2 separate regions of the Homo sapiens genome follow, and region 1 is linked to region 2. The links are contacts of gene promoters, found by promoter capture Hi-C in blood cells and fetal thymus (Javierre and others, 2016). All regions are on one chromosome and are shown on one strand. Each heading gives the region's core, a stretch centred on a gene start or on the middle of the fragment in contact. The rest is flanking DNA. Distances are from core to core; before and after follow the strand shown.

Region 1 (5,003 bases), core at 1,502-4,001, 970 kb after region 2:
AGGTGCCTAGTCCGACACTGACCCACCAATGAGCTCTTGGGCCTGAATCTACCTAATTATACTGTCAGCCAAAATTGTTCTGTCTATAATAATTCACTGGGAGACTTTGCAAATATTTGACTGATTTCAGAGCATTTTTTTCCTACCACATTTCCCTAATGGCGAGTCCAGTGATTCAGTAAACAGGAAGGGAATTAATCTTTAACTGTCTTCAGATATTTCAAGGGTGTATACTTCATGAACACACCAGGCAAAGTTTGAGCCAGGGAATGCTAGCTATGATAGATTTGGCAAAATATAAGAAAACTTTTCCTAATGGAATCATCTGAAGAAGAAGCAGGCTGTCTTGGGAGATCTGCTCTCCACCATGGATTCAGGTATTTCAGTAGTGTCTAGGGATACAAGAGGTAGAGATAATGTCAATGTTACATAGACTTTAGTTGGTATTTAAAAATGGCTTCTAATATCCCTGAGCATCTATGGTACTATATTTGCTTCCAAAATATTTTCTAATTCGGAACTTTCATTAATTCAGGCAATCCTTCTCTCTAGCTTAAACTAGGAAGTGTTCACTAAACATAGAAACAAGCTCAGCATTTTAAGCGTTTTCCATTTATAATGATCAACTCTATATATTCCTTCAAATTGCACCTTTGTGCCATATCTATTTAAATTTTGAAAGATTTATTATTTTAAATAATGCTTGGTATGAAAGAGGTTATATAGTCAAAGATTTTAACTACACAATACACAGAGTGGTTATTAATAAAACATATTTCTGTTCTGTTTTTTTAAAAACCCTGACATTTTCAAAAGGAAAATACCAGCTTTACACACACTCATTAGGATGACCTACTTTTTGACATGTGGCTACAATTTATTCTACCACTTATTGGTGAGGTAGTTATCCCAGTACAAAATGAAAAAAATATATAATGTCCTTACTTAAAAAGTTATATGAACTTAACTTAAATGCCATGTCCCACATAGAAGAAGGCAAGACCCCTTTTATGACAAAGTAAAGACAAAATGAACCCCATATTTCTATGGTTGCTGACCAAGCTTGCATTCAAGGACTTTAGATCTTGATGCATTAAGAAAAATGATAAATGATAATGGGATGACATTAAGGCATAATTGCTGAACTAGTTCTTTGGCATCTGCTGCCATGAAGGTAAATTTAATGATAAATAGCATACATTTGGTAATTTTCTACTATAATAAGACATGTTTGCAAATCAACCATAGTTTTTGCAGGTAAACCTGAAAACATATTTTATCAATTAAAAATAAGATTTTATGTTCAGTCATTTTTTAGGTATTATAAAAATTCCTAAAATTGCTAATTTCTGACTGAATATACTTTTTCTTTAATGAAACACTTCATTTATTGGTTTCTACATCATTTATAGAGTAGTGTCAAAACTTCCAAGCATACAAGTTCCTTACTAGCTTCACCCTTTATCACTTCCCCCATCTCTGGGAGATGCCCTATATGTAAGTTACAGTTAAGGCTACTTGTAGTTTCTATCACGCTATACTGTTTCATTCTCTGTCCTGAATTCACTGTTTCTTCTTTTCAGAATACATTTTTCTTCTTTAAGCGTCTGGGGAACTGCATTTTCAGATTTGGTTATAATGACTTTCATGACACTCTCCACAACCAGGTTTGATCATTCTTGCGCTTGCCAGCATACTGTCTTATGCAATCTTCCATTACTGTACTTATGAAACTGGATTATAACTTGCTTTCCTTCTATGTCTATTTCCTTCTTTAGGAACACTTTGGAAGAAGAAACTGAGCCTCTTTGATATTTCTATCCATAGTGCCTAACATTACTTTATTAAAATGTACATTTTTGAATGAATAAAATTGATCCAAATGGATAGTCAACACTTTATTCATTTTCCATACCCATGATTGCTTAAATTTAACATAAGCAGACTACTAAATGAAGCCCAGACAAGCTTAAGCAAAACAACAAGGAAATGCGCCTTTTAGGAACTGCCAAGACTATAGTTCTCATTGATTGCAGAATTCAATTTCCTCCTAAATATTTTGATTATTAGGACTTCAATGTGACTTCTGGAAATTCAGAGTTACAACCAACAGCATCTATTTTGCTGTTCTCCCACCTGGACAGCAACTTAACCAACTCATCCCATGGTCACTCTAAAGGCCTTTAATTGACAATTCGATGCCACAAAGGGGAAAGAAAACAAAGCACTTTCTAAGTAAATATGTTATTATAAAATAAAGATAGAAATGTTTTTCAAGCTTGGCAAATATTTTTATAACTTTTGAACTGCCGATAAAGTTTTAAATTTTTTTCTGGCAGTCTTGATACATGTGCTTTAAAAGTGTATCCATTTCTTACTAAAAGAGTCAATTATACTTACTAAACACACCAGTGCCTTTGCCTCCTGAGAAGTTAGAAATAACTGATAGTATAGGTATATATTTATTGAGGCAATTAAATCCGTGACCCTTAAAAGCAGTCTTAAGTAGCTGCAAAGATTTAATACTCATTTAATACAATAAATGGGCCATTATAGTAATGATGCTTTAAAATTAATAAGTCAAACAGGTCACTTTAGGATCAATATATTTGGTCTGTGAAGTATATTTCATACATATTCCATTTAAGAATATTTTATTTGAAGATCCTGATCTGTATGTCTCAACTGAGTTAGAAATTTTCATAACCAAAGAAAACAATATTTTTACCAGTTGACTTTAGGCTGATTCACCACATATCATTGGCACTTTGGCTTTAAAACCAGAAGAGGTTATTTATTTATGAATTTTATGTTCTTAAAGTAAATATTAGTGGAGGGAAAAAAGTAAGTAATTCATTGAATGGACATAGACAAAATCTTTGATTTTTATTGTTTATGTGAATTAAGGAAACAAGTTAAATTTTTTTTGCCATTCTTTCATTCCAAAAAAAAAAATACTCTATTTGGTAGAGAAAGGAATTGCTTTTTGAGATATTCTATATAGTAGAGGCTTATATAAACATAGAAATGATGTTGCAAAATCATTTGTTGTCTGTGCAGTATTGAAATATAAAGATCTTTTATGAGATCAAAATAATGAAAACAGGCCTGGCAGCATGTGTTTTATTTCCATATTTCAGATATTCCCTAATGATAACCACAAAGTCCTCTGAGGGGAGTGTATTTGTTTTCAATGCAATTGTAATAGAATGAAGGGAAGCTTTTGCTTACTAATGTGCTGCATTTCTAATAATTCTTTCCATCCACTTGCAAATGTGAATTGTCACCGCTGATTTATGTTCATTAATCAAAACGGCAAATGCATGTGGAGTGCAGAATCCGGGTCCAGGCTGTTGTGTGAAAAATGTGATCAATCATCACTGATTGGCATTTTGAGTTAAACTATACAAGAATGTGGAAGAACAGATGCTTGCTAGGAACAAGGGAAAGGAAGTTAGGGCCAGGAGGCTAGCATTTTAATTGGCAAGATTCAAGGTGGTTAAAACAGACTAGACCAAAAATTCTGAGTTTTGGAATAAGAGAAAATAATTATGCAAAACCCAGGGAAGAACGACTTTTCAAACTACCTTCATGTGAAAGATACCTTTAAAACAATGCTATAGATGCTTAAAAATGGTACCTGCAGTTGTGATTTAATAGGGCCATGAAAATAGGACTTGACCCATATTTTTTGTACCTAAGGGAAAGTAGCTAAGTGTAATGAGAATCAGCTATTCATAAAACAATAAACTTGGAAGATATTTAATGTATCCTGTCTCTATTTTGTGCTTTGTGTTGGAGGAGTGGATTTATTAAATTAGTTTTTTTAAAATCTCTAGATACAGTCATTCAAGAAAAAATAATAGCTATATTGTTTTAAGCTGATGAGATAAGAATATTTATATACATTGAGGTTTAGATAATATAAAACACAAAATGAAAAATAATATAAAAGCAAATTATATAAGTCAAGTAGAATTAGTCATATATGTGATGCTACGAAGACTATATTTCAGATTTAGAAAATAAAATTTCATTGTGTAAAAATTAAGTTTTGACATTTTAATAATCAACTTTACTATACTGTATTATTTTTAAACAAATTTTTCACTAAATCAGTTTAGGAAAGAGCACTTCTCATTAAAATATTACTTCCCCACTACATATACTGAGTTTTTAACACTCTCATGATGGTATACACACAATAATTATTTTGAGATTTCTACGTAACTAACAAATTAATAAAAGAATGAATAAATTTTGCATGTAATCTGCATCATTTCTTCCAACTGGCTGCATCTCTATCCTGTTAGGATATAAAAATATCAAGAAATAGTTACTACAAAAGTAAGTACATTTATTGTATGATTAATCAGTTAGTTTAAAATGGTGAATTCTGACTGCAGTGAAGATAAGATGGAATAAAGATTCCAATTTTGTATCTTCACTGAAAGCAAGTGGAAATTTTGAGAAAGCCAAAGTTCTATAAACATGATTTTTTTAAAGAAATAAGCCTTTTGTTACACAAGCCATCTATGCGTTTTATGACTTAGTTCCCCTTACTATTAAGTGATAGAATTCAATTTTCTCTAAATTCATTAATCTTTATTTCTATAAGTTGCTTAAATTATGGCCAGGTTACATGCATTAACAATCTAATTCTAAATACACACACACACACACACACAGACACACACACACACCACACACACAGACACACACACACACCACACACACAGACACACACACACACAATAGTTACGATCCAAAAATTATCCCAGATAATTGCAGAGTTAATTGAGTAAAATCTATTGTTACATCTATTAGCGCATTTAATTTATAACATGTGGTGATGGGAAAATAATTATCACTGCTTTAGAAATGAGTAACTGACTCAGCCATAGCTGTTAAATGGGCAAACGTGAAATTAAAGTCAAATCCAGGTTTATATGACTACTAACTCAGTCCACTTTACCACAATGACCCATTAGAATTTATTCAAA
Region 2 (5,380 bases), core at 273-2,772:
CCCAAAGTGCTGGGATTACATGCGTGAGCGACCGCAACCGGCCAAAAAATGTTATTATTAATCGCACAACAATCTCATATAGATGCAATTCAGAATATGAAAACGTTGAGAATTACAGAAATTAAGCAATACTTCCAAGGTCTATCAGCTAAGAAACAGGAGAAGCAGGCTGAGAATCCTGGGCTTCTGACTGTATTATTTCCTATGTAGTTTAGCTATAAAATTATTTTACATGAATTCGGACTTGATGTAAACCTAGAAAGATGGACAGAAACAGCACAGTTAAAGAGGGATATACTTTATGCAGAAGTAACCCATGTGCATGAAGGAAGGGTTCTGGTAAGGGAATGAATTTCATCTGCACTCTTTGTCAGGAGGCAGCTTTCCTTATGGGAGAGGGAGGCAGAGGTAGGGAAAATGTGTGAAGCCTTTGAATGCCAGGCTAAGGAGTGTGGGCAAGTCGTTAGTGGTTCTTTATCAGAGTGGTGGCATAGTATTAACAGCATTTTATTATTAATCTGGTTGTGGATTACTGAATACATTGGGGAGGTAGAAGTGGAGCTTCGGAGACCAGTTAGATGGCTGTTGCTGGAGTCTGGAGTATGAGGACCTTTAGTATGTTGACGTAGAGACCTGGGAAGGTGTTCTTTTGTTAGCAGACAGCGTTGAGGGGACATGCAAACTCCTTATATTTAAAAAGGACTTATGAGTATATAGGGGTTTCTTTCAAAAGCAGCTACTGCAGAGGCCTGAGAGGCCAAAAGGGCGCGTTTGGAATTAAAACAGAGTTAGACTCTTGGCTTTGTCATTTTCTAATTATATAGCCTAGAGGAAGTCACCTAATCTCTCTTGAGTCTTGATTTCAATTCCTCTAAGTTAGGGTTGACAATCCCTACTTGTTAGAGCATCTGTGTGCATAAACCAGACAGTGCTTTAAGGCATGTAGCAATGGCGCTGCGTGTTGGTTCCCGCCTTCCCCCCGGTATACTGCAGGCGGGGGCTGGGTAGCTAAGGACAGCGGAGGCCAGGAAAGTCGTTCTACCTGGAGATCCCGGGCTGGCACTTCTGTCCAGACCTGGACAGGCCTCCGAACGCCGGCCGGCCCTACCTTGGACCAGGCTTCGCACGGGATGACGGAGCATCCCCTGCCAGTCGGTGGGACAGACGTTTTCCTCCTCAGAGGGGCTCTGGAGCGCGAGGCAGTCCCCGGCAGCCGGGGGTACCAAGGGGGCAACGGGGGAACAGCGCGGAGAGGCGGCGCCGGCGCCCGAGGCAGCCGCGGCCACCGCGGCCACCCCCGCACCGCCCGCCGGCTAACTCGCCGCGGGTGCTGGGCCGCGCTGGCCGCGTTTGAAGTCTCCGGCGCGGCTGCTGGTTGGCCGGCGAGGGTCACGTGCGCCCAGGCAGGAGTTTCCCCGACAGCTGGAGGCTGCGTGGGATCCGGCGGCGGCTCCCGAGCGCGGCGGTGCGGCCTTCCCCGCCCCCTCCCTCCCTCCTCCCCCGCCCGCTTCCGCCCGGCTTATTATCCTCCTTATTGACAAACAGAGCGGTCGCGGCGGCGACTCTCGGCGTGCGGTGATAGCCAAGCCATGGGAGACAAGAAGAGCCCCACCAGGTAACAGCGCCCGGGCCCCGGGGCCCGGACTGTGCGGGCGGCAGGGCCCTCGTGCAGGGCTTCGGGTGGCCGCCTCGCTAGCCGCCCGGGCACCGGGGCGAGCACGGGGGCAGCGCCGCTGGTGTGCGAGTGCTGCCGCTTGAGGGGGCCGGCGCCGGCCGCCCCACAATGGAGCCGCGATGGCGGCGGCGACCGGAGCGGCCGCCCGGGTGTCAGAGCGGCTGTGGCGGCGGCGACTGCGGCCGCGCTCGCGCCCTGCCTCTTCCTGACTCCCTTCCCCCTCAGCCGGAGCGCGGCGCGCCGAGGGCCCGCGGGGCGGGGGTCGCAGAATTGGGGCGGGGGGCGGGGCGGGGGCGGCCGCGGGGCCCGGGCACCGGGCGCGGCCTGCTGGTGACCCCGCGCCGCGTCGTGTCCGGGTTGTGTCCTGCAGGCCGAAGCGGCAGCCGAAGCCGTCCTCGGATGAGGGTTACTGGGACTGTAGCGTCTGCACCTTCCGGAACAGCGCCGAGGCCTTCAAGTGCATGATGTGCGATGTGCGGAAGGGCACCTCCACCCGGTGAGTCCCGGGCCTGCCCCTCGCGCCGCCGGCCGGCGGGGTGGCGACCAGAGGACGCCCTTGCGGCTGCCGCCCCCTCCCATGACACTGGCGGACCCGGCGGGAGGAGGCAGACGGAGGTGGCTGTGGCGATAGGAACTGGGTCACATTGATCGCAACCCAGGCGATGGTTTGCGGTGAGGGGTAATTGAAGAGGCTGTAACGTTTTTTGCTGCCAAGAGAGAATAAATTATTTAAGGGAGGCATTAGCTACTGCGATTTAATTCGTATCGCTGGGTGTAATGCCCCTCTCCCCATTCTGGGTATAAAAATGTTGGCTGCATTGTTGTGTTAGTGTGTGGGGATCAAGGAAAACCCATAAAATCTCTTTAGGAGCAAAGGATGTAATTTAATTTCGTTCCTAAAGAAAGAAAAGTATCTGATTGCAGAATACACAATATATTAAAACTTATTTTTCTACATGTACTTCTGGAAGGGTCAGATCAAGGTTTTATTTAGTGTTTTTATTCCAGTACTCTAATATTTTATAAATAAGTAGTTGGAGATGAGCCCAGTCACAGGAACAGATTTTTACTGAAAGTACCTTTATATCTTTAGTTTGATTAAATGGCAGTCTCTTAGACAAATGAGATGAAAAGATCTCTGCCTATTTTCAGACTTTATTTATTGTAAGCTTGCAGTATAATAACTCTGTCTTTTAAAAAATGACTTTGAATTAAGTGAATAAAGAAAATCATCCAGGAAATTCAGTCAGTGGCATTCTTAATCTGTCAGCACTTAGTTATCGAGCTCCTTGATTCTTATACGAAGGTACCCTTTGAATTAAATATAATCCTGTGATTTATTACTTAATATTTAGAGAAGATATGTATTTTGATATTACAAAGTCCATTAGAAACTAAACTATAACAATAAGCATACTAATCTTACTGTTGCTTTAAAAAAGAAGGCACATGTAATATTGACATATACAAATATTCAGTAGACGTTAGATTTCTAAAAAATGAGATCTTGATTTTTTAAAAAACACTTTACAGAATTTTATTAAGTTTAAAATTTAGAGACAGGAATGGTTGACAGTAACTTATCTGAAAAATTTCTCAGTGAAGCTCGCTGGTTTTGACATGCTTGTTTTTTGTAAATCATCATATGCTTTTTGTATATTCCCACAATTGATAAAATATTTCGTACATTTTTCATATTCAAAAAGCAAACTTTCAAACGTATGCTAAATTTAAGGGATTACAACAGAACATTCCAAAAAGAAAAAAAGTATTTGCTAAAATGATTGTGGTTACTATTTTTGGACCCGTGATTTGTGATTTAAGTATTTTGAAAAGCAGAGTATCTTCTTGGCTGTGTAAGGTTGGAGTTGGTTTAGAGTATATTTGTGTATCTGTGTTAGTACTTTGTGCTTTTTAAAATGCTCAATAAGCAATTTTTAGAAAATTCGTTTTTTGGAGGCAGGAACATTAAAGTGGAAACAATTATAATCTTGATCTCTGGTACTATATATTATTGCTTTTTGTTGTTCCCTCTCTATTTTCTTGTAGCCATTAGAAAAATACTGAAACTAGAAGAGCCTATATGTTTATTTGCAGGGACAGCAAGGAAGGGGGGAAGCTGGTGTCCTACTCCACAGCCAGTCTTGGGGTTAGAGGAACCCTGAGAAATAGAGTAGGTGGTGGCAGCTCAGAAGAGAAGAAACAGGCTGAATACCTGGCACCTGGAAGAAGAAGGAATATAGTACACAGGGGAGTTGGCCCAGGACAGAGAAGTGGGCCTAGTTTAAAAGAGGCTTGAGGCCCACATGGGGGCCCCTGACATTTTTTTTTTTTACCAGTACATCTAAGCTCTTGTAGATCCAATTTTTAGTGGTGGAAACATTACTTGAGGAGGACTCAGAGAAGCATTGTCATTTGGATTGAAACTGAAGAGGCTCTGGGCAACTCACCAGAAATCTAAGGGACACTGTGTTCCTGAAAGTAAGTGTTCTACACCACGACCCTCTCAGCTTCTTCCTTCCTCTCTCTGAATTCTCTTCTCTTTTGATTTTGGCTCTAAGTTAAACCTAAGAGCTCTAATTTCTCTGTTATCTGTTATTTTCCTAGTGGTTTCTGAAATTCAGGGTAGAATCTGTGTTTGTATAGAACAGTGTGGAACAGGGTATTGTTACTAGAGAAGATATTGATTGCATCACAGAATATTAATATTTTTCCTCTCTGGTAATGTTAAAAAAACAAGATTAAAGGACTGCAGAACGGTGTTGAGAAGCAAAAGTTTCAGTAGTTGGAAGAAATAATTCTCCATAATTGACTTATTAATGAACAGGGTAATTTCCAGAGTAAGGTTGGCAAGTACTAAAGCCAAGACTGGATAGCTGCAGAGCAGAAGGATGCAGTTTGCTAATGATTTGTTTGTGTGACGCACAGATGGGATTTGAATCCTTTGGGTCAGACTGACCTTTGAACTGATTCTGCCTCATTGCCAAATGTTAGGCCAAGTCTAAGCCATTCTAGACATTTGAAAAACTTTTTTCTTTTTAGACCTGCAGAGAAGATTGAGTCCTTGTTCTACCTTTGAAGTCTTCTTTTTTTCTTTTTTCTTTTTTGAGATAAGATCTCATTCTGTTGCCCAGGCTGGGTTGCAGTGGCATCATCCAGGCTCACTGCAGCCTCGAACTCCCAGGTTCAAGGAATCCTCCCACCTCAGCCTCCCAAGTAGCTGAAACTACAGATGCACACCACCATGTGTGGCTAATTTTCTTATTTTTTGTAGAGATGGGGGATCTCTATGTTGCCTAGGCTAGTCTCAAACTCTTGAGCTCAAGTGATCCTCCTACCTTGGCCTCCCAAAGAACTGGGATTATAGGAATGAGCCACCATTCGGCCCCTTTAAAGTCTTTATTGGCAATATAATTTTTTTTCTTTAAATAATATTAAGTTCAAATTCTTTATGCAACAGAAGCCCATTTCCTTTGGCTATATCCATGGTAGGTCATGTCTTTCTAGAGAACGAAGTTACATTCATGGCATGTATTTCAAAATAAAATGATTTGTTGTAGCTTCAGTTCCTCAAGTTTTAATTTTATTTTAGATTTTGGGGTACATGTGCATGTTTGTTACTTGGGTATATTGCAGAGTGGTGGGATTGGGATTCCAGTGTACCCATTACCCAAATGGTGAACGTTATACCCAACAGGTCATTTT

Evidence for each region. Contacts are between HindIII fragments. The CHiCAGO score rates a contact against its expected background, and 5 or more counts as called.
Region 1: a contact is called between a fragment that was not itself captured here and the fragment with the promoter of YAF2 in region 2, in 1 of 17 cell types (monocytes). The highest score is 6.8, in monocytes.

Annotation. Positions count from the first base shown.
Region 1 is chr12:41,270,012-41,275,014 of GRCh38, reverse strand. The region is part of intron 3 of PDZRN4 (PDZ domain containing ring finger 4); the gene reads right to left. Among named protein-coding and RNA genes, the nearest start is that of PDZRN4, 84 kb to the right of the region's middle. The HindIII fragment of the contact is 942 bases long and covers 2,281-3,222 here.
Region 2 is chr12:42,234,390-42,239,769 of GRCh38, reverse strand. YAF2 (YY1 associated factor 2) reads left to right here and starts at 1,522. Exons shown (of 4, transcript NM_005748.6): 1 at 1,522-1,615; 2 at 2,046-2,171. The coding sequence starts at 1,590. LOC124902920 (a long non-coding RNA gene) reads right to left here and starts at 1,325. Exons shown (of 2, transcript XR_007063279.1): 1 at 1,043-1,325; 2 at 492-633. RefSeq lists silencers at 777-916, 1,107-1,346, 1,397-1,776, 1,877-1,946, 2,067-2,396 and an enhancer at 1,730-2,231. The HindIII fragment of the contact is 7,822 bases long and covers 1-2,846 here.